7 separate regions of the Homo sapiens genome follow, and all the other regions are linked to region 4. Evidence: promoter capture Hi-C in 16 types of primary human blood cells and fetal thymus (Javierre and others, 2016). All regions are on one chromosome and are shown on one strand. The core of a region is centred on a gene start or on the middle of the fragment in contact, and the rest is flanking DNA. Distances in the headings are between cores, read along the strand shown.

Region 1 (2,700 bases), core at 9-2,508, 190 kb before region 4:
GAGTAAAACTCTGCGGAACAGTCTTTCTCTACTCTGCCTGTTTCTCTTCTGTGTTCCTGTAGCCCCTGTCTCTCTCCTGCAGGTAAATTCCGTTGTGTGGCCCTTAATCATATTCTTCCTTGTGTAATTTTTGTGAGTACCTACCTTATCTCTCTTGATAGATTTTAAATGCCATCAAGTCAGGGACTACGTTTGTTCATGTTTGTATTTTCCACAGCTCTGGGAACAACAGGGCCTTTCCTTCCCAGGCGCACAGTCAATATTTGCTGATTTGGAGTAATTGCCTGTTCTAAACTGGGCCCTGGCCGAGGGAGGTGGGGTGAAAAGCCCTTGAAAGTGCAGGTGTCCGGAGTCTAAGTGGCAGTTCTGAGGGTTCTCTTCCCTACGTCCAGCTTCAAGCCCAAGTTCTGGCTGGTTTGGCTGTGGAGCCCAAGATGAAGTTGAACATTTAGGATCCCACAGCTTGTTGTTATCCATAAATTATCTCCCAGGAGTGGGTCCATATTACGCCTTCCCTTTTTTGTTGTTGTTGTTGTTGTCGTTGTTGTTTTTGGTTTTTGAGATGGAGTCTCGCTCCGTCACCCAGGCTGGAGTGCAGTGGCGCAATCTCGGCTCACTGCAATCTTCTGCCTCCCAGGTTCAAGGGATTCTTCTGCCTCAGCCTCCTGAGTAGCTGGGATTACAGGCGCACGCCACCACACCTGGCTAATTTTTGTATTTTTAGTAGAGACGTGGTTTCAGCATGTTGGTCAGGCTGGTCTGGAACTCCTGACCTCGTGATCTGCCCGCCAAAAGTGCTGGGATTACAGCATGAGCCACCGCACCCAGCCTACTCCTTACCTCTTAGCCCTCTCTTACTCCTCTTTCCAGCACTTGTAAATAAAATGCAGTTGGTGCTTTATTGATTTACAAAGTCCCCTACAGAAGCTTATTTAAGTCCTGCATTAGAAGTAAAGAGAAACTAGCCATTAGAACGCCAGTTATTTAGGAAAACAACAGTACATTTACATGAGATAGTTAATTTTAAGAGTTAATCTTAAGCAAGCTTAATTGAAAGATGAGGTAGCTGAGATGGCTAAGACGACCTAAATATTTTCAAGTGGCATGGAGACTATTTGAAGGGACTTTGAAAATGGATCCTCTTTATTGTGTCCATTTCACTTAATTTTATGAGTTGCATTGCCCCTGATTTAGTAAGTGTTCTTTCACATAACAATTATGGACAGAATTTTTTTTTTTTTTTGCTTCTGTGTTGAAAAGAGGGACAATTTCTATCAACTGTGGGATTTAGGGCTTTTGTTTGCCTATTAGAAATTAAGTAGCCAGGAATGGTAGAAAACAGTAAGGAGGTAAACCATGTATAAACAACCTCACAATCCCCCTAAAAAAGGAAAAAGGGTGGCAGCCTCACAGAAGAGAGTTAGATAATGCCATTCCCCTGCCAGCCACTAGTGGTCACTGTCAGACCAGGAAAGCTTGGTTGCTGTTTTCCCAGAGAGTTCCTGATGAAGCTGGGTTACAACTAGTTATTTGAACACGTGGGGTGACTTAAATGTGGACTACCTGCATTCATAGAATTTTGAAACGTATAACCTGTTTCTTTAAGCATTTAAATTTTCTTTTTCTTTTCTTTTCTTTTCTTTCTTTTTTTTGGAAACAGTCTCGCTCTGTTGCCCAGGCTGCAGTGCAGTGGTGCAATCGCAGCTCACTGCAGCCTCGATCCCCTGGGCTCAGATGATCCTCTAACCTCAGCCTCCCAAGTAGCTCAGACTACAGGTGCATGCCACCACACTCTCTGCTAATTCATATATATATATATATATATATATATATATATATATATATATATATTTGTTGTTGTTGTTGTTGTTTGTTTTCATACAGAGTCTCACTCTATTGATCAGGTTGGAGTGCAGTGGCGCAGTCTTGGCTCACTGCAACTTCCACCTCCCGGGCTCAAGCAATTCTCCTGCCTCAGCCTCCTGAATAGCTGGTATTATAGGCGTGCACCTCCACGCCCGGCTAATTTTTGTATTTTTAGTAGAGACGGGGTTTCACCATTTTGGCCGGGCTGGTCTCGAACTCCTGACCTCAAGTGATCCACCAGTCTTGGCCTCCCAAAGTGCTGGGATTACAGGCGTGAGCCACTGCACCCAGCTGCTAATTTTTGTGTTTTTTATAGAGACGGGGTTTCACCATGTTGCCCAGGCTGGTCTCAAACTCCTGGACTCTAGCAATCTGTTCACCTTGACCTCCCAAAGTGCTGGGATTATAGGCATGAACCACCGTGCCCAGCAGCATTTAAATTTTCAGTGTTAGGTTTCCTCCAAGTACATTTAAAACTTTTGATTGGAAAAAAACTCATTGATTTGGTCTTTAATATTTCTTAACCTGTTAAATCCATTACCTCCACTTCACGTGGGAAAATCCAATTGGTATTGGGAGCAGGAGTTTGGTTTTCTTCTCTGGCACAGATCTGTGGCATTTGGTAGAGCGGCAGTCAGTAGATGGAGTGAAAATTACCTTGCTGGTGTTAATAAAAGCTAATTTTCTTGCCTTCTAGCTACAACGTCTTAAAGTCTTCTATTAAAGATTAATTCCTTTGGGTTTTGCATTGCCCTTGCCTGGTTCTTACTTTTAAAATGTTAATGCTCCGAAGGAAAATTTTTGCATTAAGTCATTAACTCCTTAGCTGGGGAC
Region 2 (2,700 bases), core at 10-2,509, 150 kb before region 4:
GCCCATCTGCCTGGGGCAGGGGCCATGTGTCCTCTGCTTGGCAGCCAACACTAGCTTCGAGCCATCACCTTACTCTCCTTGCTTTGCATCTGATAATTATTTGGGAAAATGTCAGACATAATTTTCAAGGAAGTTCATTTATTTCCGAGATTTAAGTCTAGGAGAGCTGGGCAAACTAAGGTAAGACACAGGATGAAAGTTTTCGTCAGCAAGCCTTCTGCGTTTGTGACTCTTTTTTTTTTTTTTTGAGACAGAGTCTCACCCTGTCACTCAGGCTGGAGTGCAGTGGTGCCATCTCAGCTCAACATAACCTCCGCCTCCAGGGTTGAAGCGATTCTTGTGCCTCAGCCTCCCCAGTAGCTGCAATTACAGGCGCATGCCACCACGCCCAGCTAATTTTTGTATTTTTAGTAGAGACAGGGTTTCACCATGTCGGCCAGGCTAGTCTCGAACTCCTGGCCTCAAGTGATCCACCCACCTTAGCCTCCCAAAGTGCTGGGATTACAGGCATAACCCACTGTACCCAGCCAGTATTCTTGTCAAAATGGCTTGACAACCCTATTACTGCCCGGGTTTGCCCCTTGGTGGGACCAGATCAGTGTGTGGGCCGGTCTTCCTCTTGCAGGGTTGCCCAGGGCTGGGGTGGCCCTCCCGGGAGTGCAGGTGCTTAGGGGTGAGTTCTCATGCTCCTGGCAGGTTTGGAAGCAGGAGGCCCCTGGTGGGTGAGAGGGGTGGGAAGGGTAAGGGAAAGGAGGCAGGGGGCTGGAGAAAGGGGCTACTATGAGCAAAATCTTGAGGGTGGTAGAGCAGAAAAGAGAATACTCAAGCTGTGATCTGGCTGATGGGGCTGATATGAGGTGAAGGAGTCAGGGGCTGAGGGCTGGGGGTGCTGATGTGGAGTCGGGGAATCTTTGGAGGAGGTGACTCCAGGGCACCCAGCCTGAGCTCTTCCGGTCTCCATGGAAAGCCTCTGCCCCATTCCCACCTGTGTGCGGAGGTAGCCTCTCATCCTCAGTCCCCGCTCCTGGGTGGACAAGGCCTCTCTGCCTGCCGCTGCCTCCTCCACACCCCCAGGGTCCATGCGGCCCTGACCCCAGGGCACCCCTGACCAGGCTCATCTGAGGAGGAGCTGGGACTCTGGCTTGTGTTTTCCAGGATGTTTTGCTCTGAGCAAATGCAGGACCGTGGCGGGCCCCGTGGGGGGATCCCTGAGTGTGCAGTGTCCCTATGAGAAGGAACACAGGACCCTCAACAAATACTGGTGCAGACCACCACAGATTTTCCTATGTGACAAGATTGTGGAGACCAAAGGGTCAGCAGGAAAAAGGAACGGCCGAGTGTCCATCAGGGACAGTCCTGCAAACCTCAGCTTCACAGTGACCCTGGAGAATCTCACAGAGGAGGATGCAGGCACCTACTGGTGTGGGGTGGATACACCATGGCTCCGAGACTTTCATGATCCCGTTGTCGAGGTTGAGGTGTCCGTGTTCCCGGGTGAGCCCCTCCTTCCCTCAGCGCCTAAATAGGCTCAGGTTGGAATTGTTGGGGCAGGAATCAGATCAGAGACGTGAAGCAGACAGTGTGTGTGTGTGTGTGCGTAAGAGAGAGAGAGGTGGGGGCCAGGGGAACACAGTCAGGGGGTCTCTCCTGGAGCAGCTGACATGTCTGCCCAGTATTGAAGAAGGGAAGGGTCCAGTGACAGGGAGGCTGAGAGAGCGTTGCCTGTGAAGGAGCCAGGAGCGCACCTGTGGCTCAGCCCCAACGGAAGTGCAGCTGAGTGGGGGAGGGGTGGGGCTGAACAGAGAGGCTGGGGGGCCAGATGGGAAGCTGCTGTCCTCAGGGGGAGCCTTACCACATGACAGGTCAGATTTGCAGTGTAGACAGACTCCTCTGCAGCATGGAGTTTCGCAGGAGCACCTGGACCCTCATCAGCAGGATGGAAAATCAGGACCACTGGGAGTGGCACCCGTGTCCTGTTCAGAAATGCCCAGTTGGCCCAGGAGGGTCCTGGAGAGACTCTAGCCCCAGGGTCCTGCATCCTGCCCCCTTCCTTAGTGGGCAGTTTGTGTGAAATCAAACCAAAAAGGCATCCTGAGTGGTGGGAGAGCCAGAGGACAGCTCCCTGGGTCTGACTTGTGGTTTTGCCACCAGCATCAACGTCAATGACACCTGCAAGTATCACTGCGGCCAAGACCTCAACAATCACAACTGCATTTCCACCTGTATCATCCACTACCCTGTTTGCAGTGGGTGCCACCCACAGTGCCAGCATCCAGGAGGAAACTGAGGAGGTGGTGAACTCACAGTAAGCACCCTAGCCCCTGAGACATGGAGGGGGCCCTGTGCTAAGAGGAGGAGCCCAGGGCGGGGACCTTGGCCATGTGGGCCAGCTGGAGGTGTGCATCGCTCCCTTTGCCCCAGGCCCAGGTTGGAAGCCATAGTCTGAACACCCCGGCTTGGACCTGCCCTTGGCTTTGGAAGGGGGCTCAGGTAGGGGGGAAGTTGGGGGGCAGATGGAAGGAAAGTGATAGTTACTGACAGCTGGTAACATCCTACGAGGCCCGTGTTAGATGCTTCACATGAGTATTCTCACTTGCCTTTCACTGCAGCCCTGTACTGTTGTCATTCCGTGTATTAGTCTGTTTTCGCACCGTTGATAAAGACATACCCGAGACTGGATAAATTATAATGAGAAAGAGG
Region 3 (2,700 bases), core at 85-2,584, 160 kb after region 4:
GAGACTGAAACTGAACCCCAGGGCTTGAGTCATCCATGTGTTCATGTTTGGTTAACAGGCTCTGTGGTTGCAAGCCTGGCTCCTTAGGCCCCAGGTGTAATTCTCCTGTCCTGCCTCCTTCCCTGTCTACAGTGTGGCCTTCTGGCCTCCACAGTGGTGCCATCACCAGGGTCGTTCCTTGGGAGCTGTTAAGGGGAGAAGTTGATTAAGTTCCGGGCTTGAATGTTGCCTCTGTCGGTTCCAGGTTGGGCTGGTGTACATGTTTAACCTCATCGTGGGCACGGGCGCACTCACCATGCCCAAGGCATTCGCCACTGCCGGGTGGCTTGTCAGCCTCGTCCTGCTGGTGTTCCTGGGCTTCATGAGGTGAGAGGCAGCGGGGACTTCCCCACAGGGGCCAGGAGTGGAGCAGGAGGGAGTCAGCCCAGGAAGCCCGAACATGAGGGCACTGAGGGGGTGGGAAGACACCTGTCTACCCCGTATCGAGCTCAGTGAGTCCTTGCCAGGGTATTCAGAGAGGGGAAAGTGGTCACAGAGGCCTCCTGGTGGCTTGTCTTTGTGGAGCGGTTGCACAGCCCTGATCAGATAAAAACCTGGACATCCACTAGGCTTTGGAATGTTTCACGTGATGCTGGCCTATTTCTTCCCTGGCAGGTTTACCTCCCTGCTATTAAATGTATGCTTTATTAACATTACCATCAAGTTTTGCTGTCTGAGAAAATACCACCCAGCCACAGAAAAAAGATCTAACAAACATTTAAGGTGACATGGGAAATCAGTTTGGAATTTAGAATTTACTTAAGGTAATTCACGAAGTAGGTGATAAACACACGCCTGGGTGCACGATCAAGTGTGGCACTCGCCTGCTGTGTACCTCCCCAGGTCTTCAGGGACGCCTACTCCTTGAGCCAGGTGTGTGGGCCTCACCAGCCGGTGCTTCAGGGAGGGTGGGTTCCACCTGAGGCTCTTCTCGGGGATTCCCACACACGTAGGGACTAGTCTGAAGTTGTCAGCAAGTGCCCCAGGCCAGGAAGGGGTTTAGGACTAGGCATTTCCATTCTCTCAACCGGGTAGGAATCCACAAGCTGCAAAAAAGAGATGGGAAGGAGCACCTGGAAACACCTCCCCTGAGAGGTGACCCTGCCCCATCTGTGCACCAAGCACCCTTCTGGGTACTGAGGGGGCCTCACCACAAAGATCCCTGCCTGTGCAGACTTGACTTTATGTTGTGGGGAGAAGTGACAGCGAGCAGTGAAGATAATAAATGGGTAAATGGAAGAGTGAGCCGGAAGGCAGTGAGTGCTGTGGAAAGAGGAAGGCGTAACAGGGCGAGGGGACTAGGATGCCGGCTGAAGCAGGGTCAGGGAGGGCTGCATCTAAGCAAGGATCTGAAGGGGGAGGGAGTGGGTGCGGGCGGAAGGATGAGACGGAGCTTAGTAGTTGGAGCAAACTAAGACGTACAGGAAGCTGAATGGGATAGGAAAACGCCCATGGTTTTCAGTTTCTTCATGCATTTCTTTTGGGGAGTTTTGAGGGTGAATCTTGGGGCACTATTGGTTCATTATCTACAGTGAGCCCTGGCAGCCAAGAGCTCTAGAAGTCCTTGTCCTTACATGACTCCGCTGTCCCCTTTAAAGGACCTTCAGCACAGGCAGCCATCTAATGGGAAGTGATCATTCTGGGCTCCCAGGCAGGGGGTACCACACCCCGCTCCTTGCTCAACCCATTTGTGTTTGAACGTGATCGATGAGTTGGCCTTGCGCAACCATGAAAAGTCTCTTTATGCCTTAATTAAGATTGATTTTAATTTCACGTCCAAAAAGAAGGGTAAATCCAAAGCCCTTAAAATGGTCACTTAGGCAAGATAATGAGAAACCTTTCTAGGAGGTGCTGAGGCGATTGGAATGGGGGTTTCAGAGCTGGCTGCTCCCCCAGAGTGGGAGTGAGTGTGGGTTTAACTGGTGTGGGGCCAAGTGACCCCTCTGCCTCCTGCCACCTGACGTCAGGGTGAGCAGTCAGCCCCCCAACCCTTGTCAACACTCAGGGAGAGGCAGGGGTGAGTCTGCTGGCAGAGTTGTCCTGGCCTCAAGAAAGCAGGAGATGGGCCGGGCGCGGTGGCTCACACCTGTAATCCCAGCACTTTGGGAGGCCGAGGCAGGTGGATCATGAGGTCAGGAGATCGAGACCATCCTGGCTAACAAGGTGAAACCCCGTCTCTACTAAAAATACAAAAAATTAGCCGGGCGCGGTGGCGGGTGCCTGTAGTCCCAGCTACTCGGGAGGCTGAGGCAGGAGAATGGCGTGAACCCGGGAAGCGGAGCTTGCAGTGAGCCGAGATTGCGCCACTGCAGTCCGCAGTCCGGCCTGGGCGACAGAGCGAGACTCCGTCTCAAAAAAAAAAAAAAAGAAAGCAGGAGATGAATGTTCGTCCCATGCTGTTCCACGGCAGAGATGGATTCATACCTCAGGTTTTATTAGCAGGAAGGCAGCCCACTTCTGTATCCTCCGTTAACAAAAGCATTCATGCATTCCAGCTGTCATCTAGGTCTCTCAAGTATCCTTTTTTTTTTTTTTGAGACAGAATCTCGCTCTGTCACCCAGGCTGGAGTGCAGTGGCACGATCTCGGCTCACTGCAACTTCTGCCTCCCGGATTCAAGCAATTCTCCTGCCTCAGCCTCCCAAGTAGCTGGGATTACAGG
Region 4 (2,700 bases), core at 157-2,656:
AGTGCAGTGGCTCATGCCTGTAATCCCAGTGCTTTGGGAGGTCAAGAGAGGAGGATTGCTTGAGCCCACGAGTTTGGGTCCATGTCACCTACCTGGTCTTCTTCCTTTAAATCGCTGTCATTTTCACTCACCCTTCTAGAAAGAATCTTGTCATTACATTGGGCAATTTCTATGTTTTGTGAGGGAACTCAACCATAAAATTCATTCTGCAAACATGAAGAATGTCCTCTAATTTTTAGCCTAAATTTATTTCCCCAGAGACAAATGTGTTTTCCTGCAGTTTTGTATTTTGAATGTCTATTAATAAGAGTTTCTCTTCTGAAGTCCAACCTTTGCAGGACAGTTTCATTTACTTGTTTACACCACACCTTGTTCCGGGAAGGATTTAAGGTAGATGTTGAGGATGGCATTTTTTTTTTTCAGACAGGATCTCAACTCTATCACCCAGGCCAGACTGCTGCAGTGGTGCAATCTCGGCTCACTGCAACCTCCGCCTCCCAAGTTCAAGCGATCCTCCTGCCTCAGCCTCCCTAGTAGCTGGGACTACAGGCATGCATCACCACGCCCAGCTAATTTTTGTATTTTTAGTAGAGACAGGGTTTCACCATGTTGGCCAGGCTGGTCTCAAACTCCTGACCTCAGGTGATCCACCCACCTTGGCCTCCCAAAGTGATGGGATTACAGGCGTGAGCCACCACGCCCAGCCCATTAATTATTTCTCACAAACCATTCCAACCCCTTTACACTAAGCTTCGTCAAAACAGAACTATTGTTAATTCTTGAACTCTCCATGGTCTTTAATGTCCTCACACTTGCACATAAGCTATTCCTTTCCCACTCAGCCAACTCATTCATCCTGCAGGATGGACTTCCAATGAAGCCTCAGTGACATCTCCCACCCTTCCAAGAGCAAAGTGAGGGGTTCCTGTTGCATACTCTCATCACCACATGAATGAGTCTCTACAACAGTAATTTCCACATTGTATTGTAGTTAGTTGACTCCCTCAGTTCAGAAGTTACTCTTAATTACAGCACCCAGAACAGTCCTGGCACATATCTGGTGCTCAGTAAGTGTTTGTAGGATCCGTGGATGAATGATTGAATGTATAGAAGGATGCACAGGTGAATGAACGGATGTATCTTTCCCTTTTCTGTGGACACTTCACCTCTGGTTTGAACCCAGGACAGCTCTTCTACCTACTGTCCTGCCCCCTGCAAAACCAAGTCCCCAAAGCCACAGCCCCACTCACCTGAGAGGCAGAGAAGGAGTAGAGCTGGGAGCAGCCACATGTTCCTGTCTCCTTGGCTTCCGTCCTCAGCAAATCTAGGTCCCAGCTGGAATCCAAGTATATGTAACGGAGCCTGGGTCATCCACTTTCTACTTGTCCAAGTTTCCTTTGTGTTCTCACTCATCTATTTCCTCTTTTGCCTTTTAAAGAATGCTTCCTAATTTTAAGCCTTACTTAGCAGAAGAGAAAGGGTGGCAAGAGACGTTTCTGAGAATGGACCAAGCACAAACAGGAAAATCTGTTGGCCTTCATTTAATGTGAACGTAATGTTTGAGTCACCCCCTGAGATTTCATGACTCGGAATTTCATGAAAGTCAGTCCCAGTTTACGAAACCTCTCCAACAGAGAAAACTCTGTTCCCTGCCTCTTTCACTCTTCTTCCTATCTGGGATTACTTCATCGATCTAAGGAGCTTCCCTTCTCTATGGCTGCCTACTTTTGAATCATAAAACACCCTCTACTTAAGGAGCTGTGGTGATCACTCCCCATGTCTTTCTCAACCGTTATCTCCATGCGGATGACTTCACACCTCTTCCTCTAACCCAATATCCCAATATCTCTCCTGGGCTCCAGATCCTACTTTCTAACTTCCTATAGGGAAGCTCCACCTGGTTATACACTGTTAACCTAGTTCAGTATATGGGTCATGGTCAACAGCATAGATTCTGAAGTCACACAAACTCAAATCTCATCTCCATCATTTATTAATCATCTGACCTTGGGCATGTTGCCAAATCACTCTCCTCCTCAGTCTCCTCATCTGTAAAATAGAGTACTCATGACAATTCTTTCTCAAAGGGTTGCCACAGGAAATAAATGAGTTAATGTAAGTAAAGTGCTTGATACAGTGCCTGGAACATAGTAACTGCCCAGTTAATATTAAATACCTTTAGAATAGTCCTGGACCATTGAAATAGCTTCTCATCTGGTCCCTCCACTAGCTATACATTCTCTCTAATCCAACTTGCACATCAGAAGATACTCTTCTCTAAGACATAGCTATCTGAAAATATAATTTCTTTCCTTCTCTTTCCCCAGAGATACCCATCTTTGATACCCACAGCCTCTAATCTTTACTATCTTTTAGAACTCTACTGGATCATCTGATATTTCAAACTTTTGTTGTAAGAGCACAACTTCTTATCTTTTCTGTACCACCATATCTGATGAAGTATTATATAGCCAGGCATGGTGGCACGTGCCTGTAATCCCAGCTACTTGGGAGGCCAAGGCAGGAGAATCACTTGAACCCAGGAGGTGGAGGTTGCAAAGCAATGAGCCAAGATCACACCATTGCACTCCAGCCTGGCAACAGAGAGAGACTCCATCTAAAAAAAAAAGAAAGAAAGATGAAAGAAAGAAAGAAAAAGAAAGAAAGAAAGATAGATAGATTATATATAGAATAGAGCCC
Region 5 (2,891 bases), core at 387-2,886, 240 kb before region 4:
AGAGCAATGTATTCAGTAGGTAACCACTAGGCGGGACTGGTTGCTAAGGGCTGTATTTTGACTCTAAGTGGGGAAACCTGTGATTCACCTTATTCCAATTCCTCCAAGTACCTGGGACCTCTGGAGGTTCAGTTCACAAGGAAGACGTTTGGTTTGCTCGCTTGCTTTTTTAACGGGAGTGTCTGTACCCTTCCCTAGGTCCCAAGAATAACTCTGCAGATCTTGGCTTCCCAGCCTCAGGATTGTCCCCAGGGACCAGGACAAAGGGCTTGGTCCTATTGGCTTGTCTCCATGGCGCCTCCCTTCTTCTTCTTCCCAGGTGAATGGATCAGCTCAGTTAGACCCAAGAGAGCCTCATGCTTGTCCTAGACCTCATTTTCCCGACCCAGTGGCATTCCAGCCACACCTGCTGAGGCCTTGGGTACCTGCGCATCAGAGTAGCAGCTCCTCCAGCTGGCAGAGAAAGACTTGATTTGCCACAGTTAGCGCGGCCCACTGTGGAAGCAATCCAGGGTTCGCTCACCACCCAGCCATGCCAGCTGATGCTGTTTTGATTCCCCTAACCAGGGGCAGTCACTTTTCTAGAACTTTCTGTGTCATGAACCCTCAAGGGAGGCAGCTAATGCAACCCTTTCCCAAAGGGCCCTCTCCTAATACCTGCAAATTATAAGGACACTATTTGACTTGATATTATTTCTGGAGGAAAATAAAAGTCAATAAAGGCACATAAACTGCTCTGTGATTTGAGGCAAAATGAATACAAAAGCCAGGCCCTTCTGCCACACCCACTCACCACGTGATCTTAAGAGAGTCGTTTCTAATCTCAGAGTCTCAGTTATCTTGCCTGTAAAATGTGGAGGTTGAGCTACATTAAATCTATGGTCACTTCTCTTACCCAGCTTCGTCCAGGCACGGTGGTTCACGCCTGTAATCCCAGCACTTTGGGAGGCCTAGGCAAGCGGATCACTCAAGGTCAGGAGTTCAAGACCAGCCCGGTCAACATGGTGAAGCGCCATCTCTACTAAAAATACAAAAATTATCTGGGCGTGGTGGCGGGTGCCTGTAAGGGCAGGCGCTGAGGTGGGAGAATCGCTTGAACCCGTGAGGCAGAGGTTGCAGTGAGCCCCGATCTCGCCACTGCACTCCAGCCTGGGTGACAGAGGGAGACTCCGTCTTTAAAAAATAAATAAATAAAATAAAATAAATGCTACCAAACTTACAATTCCCCGTGAAGCACCTAAGCCTTAGTTCAGAGTAGAAGCAGGAGAAACAGAGCTCACTGATGGGAGGCACCTAACAGAATACAGACAGCCTGTGAGCATCTCCATGTGCCAGGCACTGGGCTCTGTGTTTTTTTGTCTGTTTTTCTTTATTTAGAGATGGGGTCTCGCTATATTGCCCAGGCTAGTCTTGAACTCCTGGCCCCAAGCAATCCTTCGGCTTCTGCCCCAAAAAGTGCTGGGATTACAGGCATAGGCCACCACACCCACCTCCCAGGCTCACTTTCTTTCTTTCTTTTTTTTTTTTTTTTTTTTGGAGATGGAGTTTTGCTCTTGTCACCCAAGTTGGAGTGCAATGGCACGATCTCGGCTCACTGCAACCTCCGCCTCCTGGGTTTAAGCGATTCTCCTGCCTCAGCCTCCCAAGTAGCTGGAATTACAGGTGCCCACCACCACGACTGGCTAATTTTTGTATTTTTAGTAGAGACGGGGTTTCACCACGTTGGCCAGGCTGGTCTTGAACTCCTGACCTCAGGTGATCCACCCGCCTTGGCCTCCCAAAGTGCTGGGATTACAGGCGTGAGCCAGCACACCCCGCCAGGCCTAGTTTCTTATATGCACTGTCTCATTCCATTCTCACAATAACCCTACGAGGCAGGAATTCTTGTTATTTCCATTTTATACATGGACATACTGAGGGCCAGAGAGTTTAAGCAATTTGACCAAAGAACACTAGTTAGTGGGGAAAACAGGATTTTAATCGGCCGGTTGCTCTCTGCCTTCTGTACATCTCGCCATTGTGTGCAAGGCATAGGGAGATGCTAGAGTTAGCAGAGCCTGGATCTAGAAGGCAGGTTCAAGGTGAAGTCAGTCAGTCTTTTGTGTGTCTCAGCACACAGGAGCACATACCCCTTAACTCTAATGCTGGGAGTTAGATAAAAACGATGAGTAGTTTGGTGTGGCCGGGACCTAGTGGGTAGAAAGGGGGTGATGGAAGATAACGTTGGAATGATGGGCTGGTACTGACACTGAAGGTCTTCATACAGCACACTGAGCTCCTGATGGTTCTTAAGGGTATGTTCTAGAAAGATCCTGCTGGTGGTATTAGGGAGGATGAACTGAAACATCAGGAGGCCGGAGACCCCTTAGGAGGCCAGAGGGATAGCCCAGGCGAGAGACAGGGAGGCCAGGGAGCAGCTGGAGGGCTACCAGAAGCCTCTGCAGGGTACACTGGGTTTGGAGGAGACCTGGGGGCAGAGGGAGGGAATGCTCACACCCTCTGTGGTCCCTGGAACACTTCTAGCAAGAAGGAGGATTGTGCAAGAGGCTTAGAGAGAGAAGCAGCAGCGCTCCACTCTGTCATGACATAATCCCCTAGGAGATTTGAGAATGGGGGCTTCAGCTACCCCTCCCCGTGAGCATCCTGTGTCCATGGGGGCTTAGCCCTGGGTCCAGAGTTTCAGAGGTATCCCTCTGGGCTCTGGACATGTACCCAGAGGTGGTCGGAAGGGAAGGGTGATTGAGATGGACAGAGAGGCACTGCCCTGGCCGGCCTGGTAGCCTGGCCCCACCCTCTGAGGCTCTTCTTGCTTGGGCCCCCTTGCCCCACTTCTTTCTTTCTTTTTTTTTTTTTTTTAAGACAGAATCTTGCTCTGTCTCCCAGACTGGAGT
Region 6 (2,700 bases), core at 58-2,557, 150 kb after region 4:
CCAACTTCCTGCCCCCACTTCTCTTTACAGCTGAATTCCCAAGACAGCCCCCCAAAACAGGACTCCACAGCGCCCTCGTCTACCTCCTCCTCCGACCCCATCCTAGACTTCAACATCTCCCTGGCCATGGCCAAAGAGAGGGCCCACCAGAAACGCAGCAGCAAACGGGCCCCGCAGATGGACTGGAGCAAGAAAAACGAACTCTTCAGCAACCTCTGAGCGCCCTGCTGCCACCCAGTGACTGGCAGGGCCGAGCCAGCATTCCACCCCACCTTTTTCCTTCTCCCCAATTACTCCCCTGAATCAATGTACAAATCAGCACCCACATCCCCTTTCTTGACAAATGATTTTTCTAGAGAACTATGTTCTTCCCTGACTTTAGGGAAGGTGAATGTGTTCCCGTCCTCCCGCAGTCAGAAAGGAGACTCTGCCTCCCTCCTCCTCACTGAGTGCCTCATCCTACCGGGTGTCCCTTTGCCACCCTGCCTGGGACATCGCTGGAACCTGCACCATGCCAGGATCATGGGACCAGGCGAGAGGGCACCCTCCCTTCCTCCCCCATGTGATAAATGGGTCCAGGGCTGATCAAAGAACTCTGACTGCAGAACTGCCGCTCTCAGTGGACAGGGCATCTGTTACCCTGAGACCTGTGGCAGACACGTCTTGTTTTCATTTGATTTTTGTTAAGAGTGCAGTATTGCAGAGTCTAGAGGAATTTTTGTTTCCTTGATTAACATGATTTTCCTGGTTGTTACATCCAGGGCATGGCAGTGGCCTCAGCCTTAAACTTTTGTTCCTACTCCCACCCTCAGCGAACTGGGCAGCACGGGGAGGGTTTGGCTACCCCTGCCCATCCCTGAGCCAGGTACCACCATTGTAAGGAAACACTTTCAGAAATTCAGCTGGTTCCTCCAAACCCTTCAGCCTCCGTGTGTTCCTTGGAAGTTTTGTCCTCTGGCCTTGGACCCCTTATAGGTAGAAATTGAGAAATGGTAAGCCAAGGTGGTCTTTGGCTGGGAGGGTGGGGTACACTGGAGGGAGGGCCATCAAGGGCTCCCTGTGACCCCAAGCCTGGGTAGCTTTAGCTAGAGGGCCTAGCTGCAGTCCTGTAGGAAGGAAGATGCATGCACCCAGCCGGGTATTCAGCTTGGTGTGGTCAGTGTGCCTGTGTGCTGGGCTGCAAGCACCGATTGTGGGCTGGGGACCCCTTGTCTAACGGGGATATTTACAAGGGGAAGTGGGAGCTCAGACCAACGTTCTCAGAGGACTCTGGGAGGTTCCTTTAATTCCAGAAGCGTGGAAAGTGTGTCCCAGGATGGAGCTGGGTTTGGAATGTGAGGACTTGGCTTTACTCTTTCTGCCTATAGCCAGTGGGGTGCAGAATTCCCAGGGGCAGGCTGGGCTGGTGCCAGATCCTCTATCTTATCTGGCCATTGTGACCTGATTGGAGGGCAAGTGTCCAGTGCCAGGGGAAAACAAACCGGTCCACTGAGCCCGGGGACATGCTGTGTGGCTAGCTGGGGTGGAAGGGACTGTTCAAGGGCAAGGTGCCCTGCCCCCAACAAAAGACCCAGGTCCCTGATACCTTTGGCACCTGAAGCCTGATCTGGAGGTCCAGGAAGGTGGCTTGCAAGAGCTAGGCTGCAGAGCCGGGAGGTTCCGGGCAGGTGCTCAGGAGGAAGGTGCCCCCAGGCTAGTCTCCACCCAACCCAAAGGGACACCTCTCAGAAAATAGGCTCCTGGGCTGAGGGGAATGAGTAAAGCAGGTAGATCTGGAATCAGGGAGTGGACAGTGTCCCCCAGGCCAGTCACTATCTGGCCATCTCCTGCTCCTTGTCAGAGGAACCATCCAAAACCCTTACCACAGCAGTGCCCTGCTCAGCTGACCTGCCCCCACCCCACCCTTGCTTCTACCCTTTGGCCCCTGACAGATTCCCCTCCACAGGGGTCGTGGAGGGCCCCTCCCTATCTCACCTGCTGGGTGGGGAAGCCCTGGGGGACCTTTGACTCTTCATTAACCTGAAGACTGGTGGAAGGAATGGGTGGCCCCAAGGGAACTCTCATTGCTGAGGTACACATGGTACGAAGGGAGCCACGGCAAGCAACGCGTTCGTTTTATAATGTTTGTTTTATACTGAGGCATGTTTTCGGTTCCAGTTGTTCACATGCAGTCTGCTGTGAGACTCCAAGATCAAGGGTGCTGGGAGGCCTTAGGCAAGTCACCTTACTTATCTAAGACTGTTTCCCCACCTGGAAGATGCCCTACAAGCCTCCTGTGGCTGTGTTTAGAAAGCATGCCCGGCCTTTCTTGACAGCCAGCCACCCCAGATGATGGCAGGGCAAGGAAGACTGTTAGGAGTCAGAGTGCTCCCCTCAGGTGGAAGGAAACTGGGCCAACTCTACTTTGTAAGCCATAGGGTGCCAGGTAGCCCGGCCACCCTGAGCCTGTGCCTCCACTGCCCCCGCGTGGCCAGTCAGGTGCAGCTGCTCCCAGAGATGGAGGGTGAGGAACAGACGTGGGAGCACCAGAGGGACAGAGCTGATGGCCTGACGCTCTCTTCAGGAGGGCACCCCCAAGGGGCCTCTGCTTCCTCAGTGCCCCCTGAGCTTTATCAGCAGAGGGGTGTTTTCCAGCCACAAGGAGCTGTATCTAACACTAATGCCTTTAAACTCAAGACTGGCTCCAGGAGAGAGGAGGAC
Region 7 (2,848 bases), core at 158-2,657, 240 kb after region 4:
ACCCCAACCCTTCCAAAAAAAGTCCCCCATCAACCATGGCTCTTGGTTGCAGCTGTTTTATTTCCAGCATGTTCCCAACCTGGTGACCCTCCACAGTCCAGCAGTAGAGAGATGGGTAAGGGGTTAGATCGGCCCACACCTCCACCTGTCCCTAAGGTTACCTCAGTTGCTGAAAGCTAAAACCTTGCGCGCAAGGGCGACCTTCCCCAGGAGGGAGGAGAGACGCTGGAAGAGCAGCCAAGCCTCCAAGCCAGGGCCGGCCGGGATCAGCAGAGGTGCAAAGTCCCACTCAGACGGACCCAGCCCTTCCCCTCCCAACACTCATCCCTTCCCTGCTGGGGGCCGGGGCTGGGGCTGGGCTCAGTGGCCCAGGAGGCGCAGCATCTCCTGAGGATCCACCAGCTTCTCCCTGGGCTTCCCCGTGCCCTGGCCCCGGGCCACCTCCTCGGCATCCAGCTTCTCCCAGTCTGAGAAAGAGACTGGCCGGACCCCTGAAGCAGAGGGGAGATTGTCAACACCTCCTCCTTCACCCCTCCCAGAACAGCCCCCTCCCAAAGAGTGAGGCCCAGAGAAGGACCACCCACCCCACCTCCCAGGACCTCAGCATCGGGGCCCAGACCTCGGCTGCTGAGCAGGGCCTGGATGGCTGCGTAGCCAGGCCTGGGGCCAGAGGGGAGCAACCCAGCCTTCAGGTCCTGCAGCAGCATCTGGCCGGTGAGGAAGCTGTCAGTCATGGTTGTGGCTATGACACCTGTAGGTCCTCTCTTCACCCAGCCGCTGCAGTAGAGGCCTGAGAGGGGGTAACAAAAGGGGAAGGGAGGGAGGTGGCTGGATACCACCCTGGCCATCCTGTGCCCACAATCTACACCCACGTGCACGCACACAGACACCCCACGCCTCTTGGCAGACTGTCGGCTGAGCCTGCTGTGGCCGCTGGTCCACTGCCCTGGATTCTTCTCTCCCTGTTTTTACCAGGCCGACCCCCTTACACCTCAGTTTCCCTGTAGATGAGGGGATCCCTAAGCTTAGGAGCTGAGGCTTGCTCCCCTGCAGTTTCAGTAGGCCCTTGGTAAATGTTTACCAAGTGAATTAATCACTAGATAGGTATGTGGGCACTTAGTAAAACTGGAAGCTCCCTGAGGACACAGGCTGCCTTATTAATCTCCAATCCCAGCACTAAGCACAGGGCCTAACCCAGAAAAGACCTCAGTAAACGTTTGTTGAATGACTTAATGACCCGACGTATGTCACATATGTCCTAGCCAGACTGGAACTTCTCTCAGGGCCAAGAGGAGGGCGGCACTGGGTCCTAGAGAGGGCCTGCCCTGCAGAAGCTTCTCAGTACATGTTGCTAGATGAATGAACGCATGGCCCCAGGAGATACCAGCTTCTCGGCCTCTCACCATAATTCAGCACCCAGCCTCCTCACACCCTCTCACCTGGCACATCCATAACCCGGCCCTCCACATTGGGGATGACCCCAAGCTTGGAGTCAAAGGGCACGCTTGGGTCGACAGGGCGGCTCTTATACCCAATGCTGCTGAGCACCAGCCCACAAGGGAGGTCTTCCATGTCTCCCGTGGGCACTGCACGGGTGGCCTCATCGACACCCTGTTGGGGAGAGTGTGGGCAACACCAGGCGGGTGGCAGAGGCCTGGGAAGGGGGTGTCTTTGGGAAACATGAGACTCACCTCCAGTCTAGTGACTGCTAGGCGGACACCTGCTGCCCGCCGCCCATCTGGTGAGGGCAGCACCTGCTGGGGGCTTCGGAAAAAGCGGAGGCCCCAGGCACGGGAGGCCGATGCCTGGCGGGCAGCTTCCGCCGGCCCTGGCTTCTCTGTGGCCGTTCGAAGCAGCAGTTCCGTCAGCCGCTTCCTCGGGCGGGGGACCTCTGTCAGCAACGTAGAATGTCTCCAGGCTGTCCCTGGGCCCCGGCCCTCTCCCTGCATGCCCTTCCCCAATCCCTCTCTGACCTAGGCCACCCTCTCCCTAGTAGTTGGGGGGCCAGGCCAGGGCCCCTCACCCTTGATCTTGTCCTGGAGACCCAAGAAATCCACAGGATCCAAAATGGGCCGGGCTCCCGGTAACTGAATCATCTCCCGAAGCTCCTTGAAGGTGGGAGCAGGGAATGGGGGAGGAGGTCAGGCCCAGAACACAGTCCACCTGAGCCCACCCCAGGGTCCAGCCCAGGCAGGAGAGACCACCACCCGCCTCCTCCCCAAAGGCACAGGGCCCCCGGGGCCCTGACTGCTCCCCTTCTTCCATCCCAGGCAGCAGCTACTCCCAGGGGCTCTGCCCCACCCCAACCCCTTAAGGAGAGGCCCCCTCCACCTGGAACCCTGGCTCCTCCCACTCTGGCCCCAGCACCTTAATGGTGAAGGCCACTTGCAGGGGTCCACGCCGGCCCACTAGCCACACTGTCTTCACTCGACTCTGCCTCAGTACACCCAGGGCTGCCTTCGTGATGTCCGTTCTCTGGCACAAAAGGAGGGCCTTGGAGTCATCAGACACTGACCGAGGAAAGGGGACTCTCCATTTGGTCATGTCCCCACCGTGGGCCTGGAGAAGGCTGGCGGCTCAAAATTGCGCCACTGCTCCCCCCTGGTGGCCAGATGGAGCATTGCTGCCAACTCTGCAAATGGCTCCAACTAATAGCACACCAGGCCCACACTTTCATTCAACAAGTATGTAGTGGGCCTCTACCATGTGCTCACCCCCATGCAAAGAGCTTGGAGGGGCGGGGTGGTCAATGGTGAGGAAAAGAGACAAGGAGCAGGCCCTCTCAGAGCTTGTGATCTGCTGGGGAGAGAAATACTCATCAAATACTCATCAATGTGTGTAAAATTGC

The links. Contacts are between HindIII fragments. The CHiCAGO score rates a contact against its expected background, and 5 or more counts as called.
Region 1: a fragment that was not itself captured here is called in contact with the fragment with the promoter of CD300E in region 4 in 5 of 17 cell types (M1 macrophages, monocytes, megakaryocytes and 2 more); the score reaches 6.9 in M1 macrophages.
Region 2: a contact is called between a fragment that was not itself captured here and the fragment with the promoter of CD300E in region 4, in 1 of 17 cell types (monocytes). The highest score is 5.1, in monocytes.
Region 3: a fragment that was not itself captured here is called in contact with the fragment with the promoter of CD300E in region 4 in 1 of 17 cell types (monocytes); the score reaches 5.8 in monocytes.
Region 5: a fragment that was not itself captured here is called in contact with the fragment with the promoter of CD300E in region 4 in 5 of 17 cell types (monocytes, M0 macrophages, total B cells and 2 more); the score reaches 7.4 in monocytes.
Region 6: a contact is called between a fragment that was not itself captured here and the fragment with the promoter of CD300E in region 4, in 2 of 17 cell types (monocytes and naive B cells). The highest score is 8.1, in monocytes.
Region 7: a contact is called between a fragment that was not itself captured here and the fragment with the promoter of CD300E in region 4, in 1 of 17 cell types (naive B cells). The highest score is 5.5, in naive B cells.

The regions. Positions count from the first base shown.
Region 1 is chr17:74,436,402-74,439,101 of GRCh38, forward strand. The region is part of intron 1 of GPRC5C (G protein-coupled receptor class C group 5 member C); the gene reads left to right. Among named protein-coding and RNA genes, the nearest start is that of GPRC5C, 5.7 kb to the left of the region's middle. The HindIII fragment of the contact is 430 bases long and covers 1,044-1,473 here.
Region 2 is chr17:74,472,381-74,475,080 of GRCh38, forward strand. It overlaps CD300A (CD300a molecule), which reads left to right. Exons shown (of 7, transcript NM_007261.4): 2 at 1,156-1,494; 3 at 2,152-2,305. Among named protein-coding and RNA genes, the nearest start is that of CD300A, 7.1 kb to the left of the region's middle. The HindIII fragment of the contact is 3,644 bases long and covers 1-2,700 here.
Region 3 is chr17:74,785,238-74,787,937 of GRCh38, forward strand. SLC38A12 (solute carrier family 38 member 12) reads left to right here. Exons shown (of 10, transcript NM_017728.4): 3 at 245-366. Among named protein-coding and RNA genes, the nearest start is that of SLC38A12, 10 kb to the left of the region's middle. RefSeq lists an enhancer at 1-176. The HindIII fragment of the contact is 4,883 bases long and covers 1-2,700 here.
Region 4 is chr17:74,622,332-74,625,031 of GRCh38, forward strand. It overlaps CD300E (CD300e molecule), which reads right to left and starts at 1,407. Exons shown (of 4, transcript NM_181449.3): 1 at 1,251-1,407. The coding sequence starts at 1,290. All of the region lies in intron 3 of LOC101928343 (a long non-coding RNA gene), which reads left to right. The HindIII fragment of the contact is 4,294 bases long and covers 749-2,700 here.
Region 5 is chr17:74,380,808-74,383,698 of GRCh38, forward strand. It overlaps LOC124904055 (a long non-coding RNA gene), which reads left to right. Exons shown (of 2, transcript XR_007065898.1): 2 at 199-735. Among named protein-coding and RNA genes, the nearest start is that of GPR142, 15 kb to the left of the region's middle. The HindIII fragment of the contact is 6,854 bases long and covers 1-2,891 here.
Region 6 is chr17:74,768,438-74,771,137 of GRCh38, forward strand. It overlaps NHERF1 (NHERF family PDZ scaffold protein 1), which reads left to right. Exons shown (of 6, transcript NM_004252.5): 6 at 31-916. The coding sequence ends at 219. NAT9 (N-acetyltransferase 9) reads right to left here. Exons shown (of 7, transcript NM_015654.5): 7 at 2,092-2,700. Among named protein-coding and RNA genes, the nearest start is that of NAT9, 6.6 kb to the right of the region's middle. RefSeq lists a silencer at 2,468-2,567. The HindIII fragment of the contact is 7,456 bases long and covers 1-2,700 here.
Region 7 is chr17:74,862,457-74,865,304 of GRCh38, forward strand. It overlaps FDXR (ferredoxin reductase), which reads right to left. Exons shown (of 12, transcript NM_024417.5): 7 at 2,368-2,475; 8 at 2,024-2,108; 9 at 1,692-1,891; 10 at 1,440-1,611; 11 at 620-790; 12 at 41-491. The coding sequence ends at 361. Among named protein-coding and RNA genes, the nearest start is that of GRIN2C, 4.0 kb to the left of the region's middle. The HindIII fragment of the contact is 151 bases long and covers 1,333-1,483 here.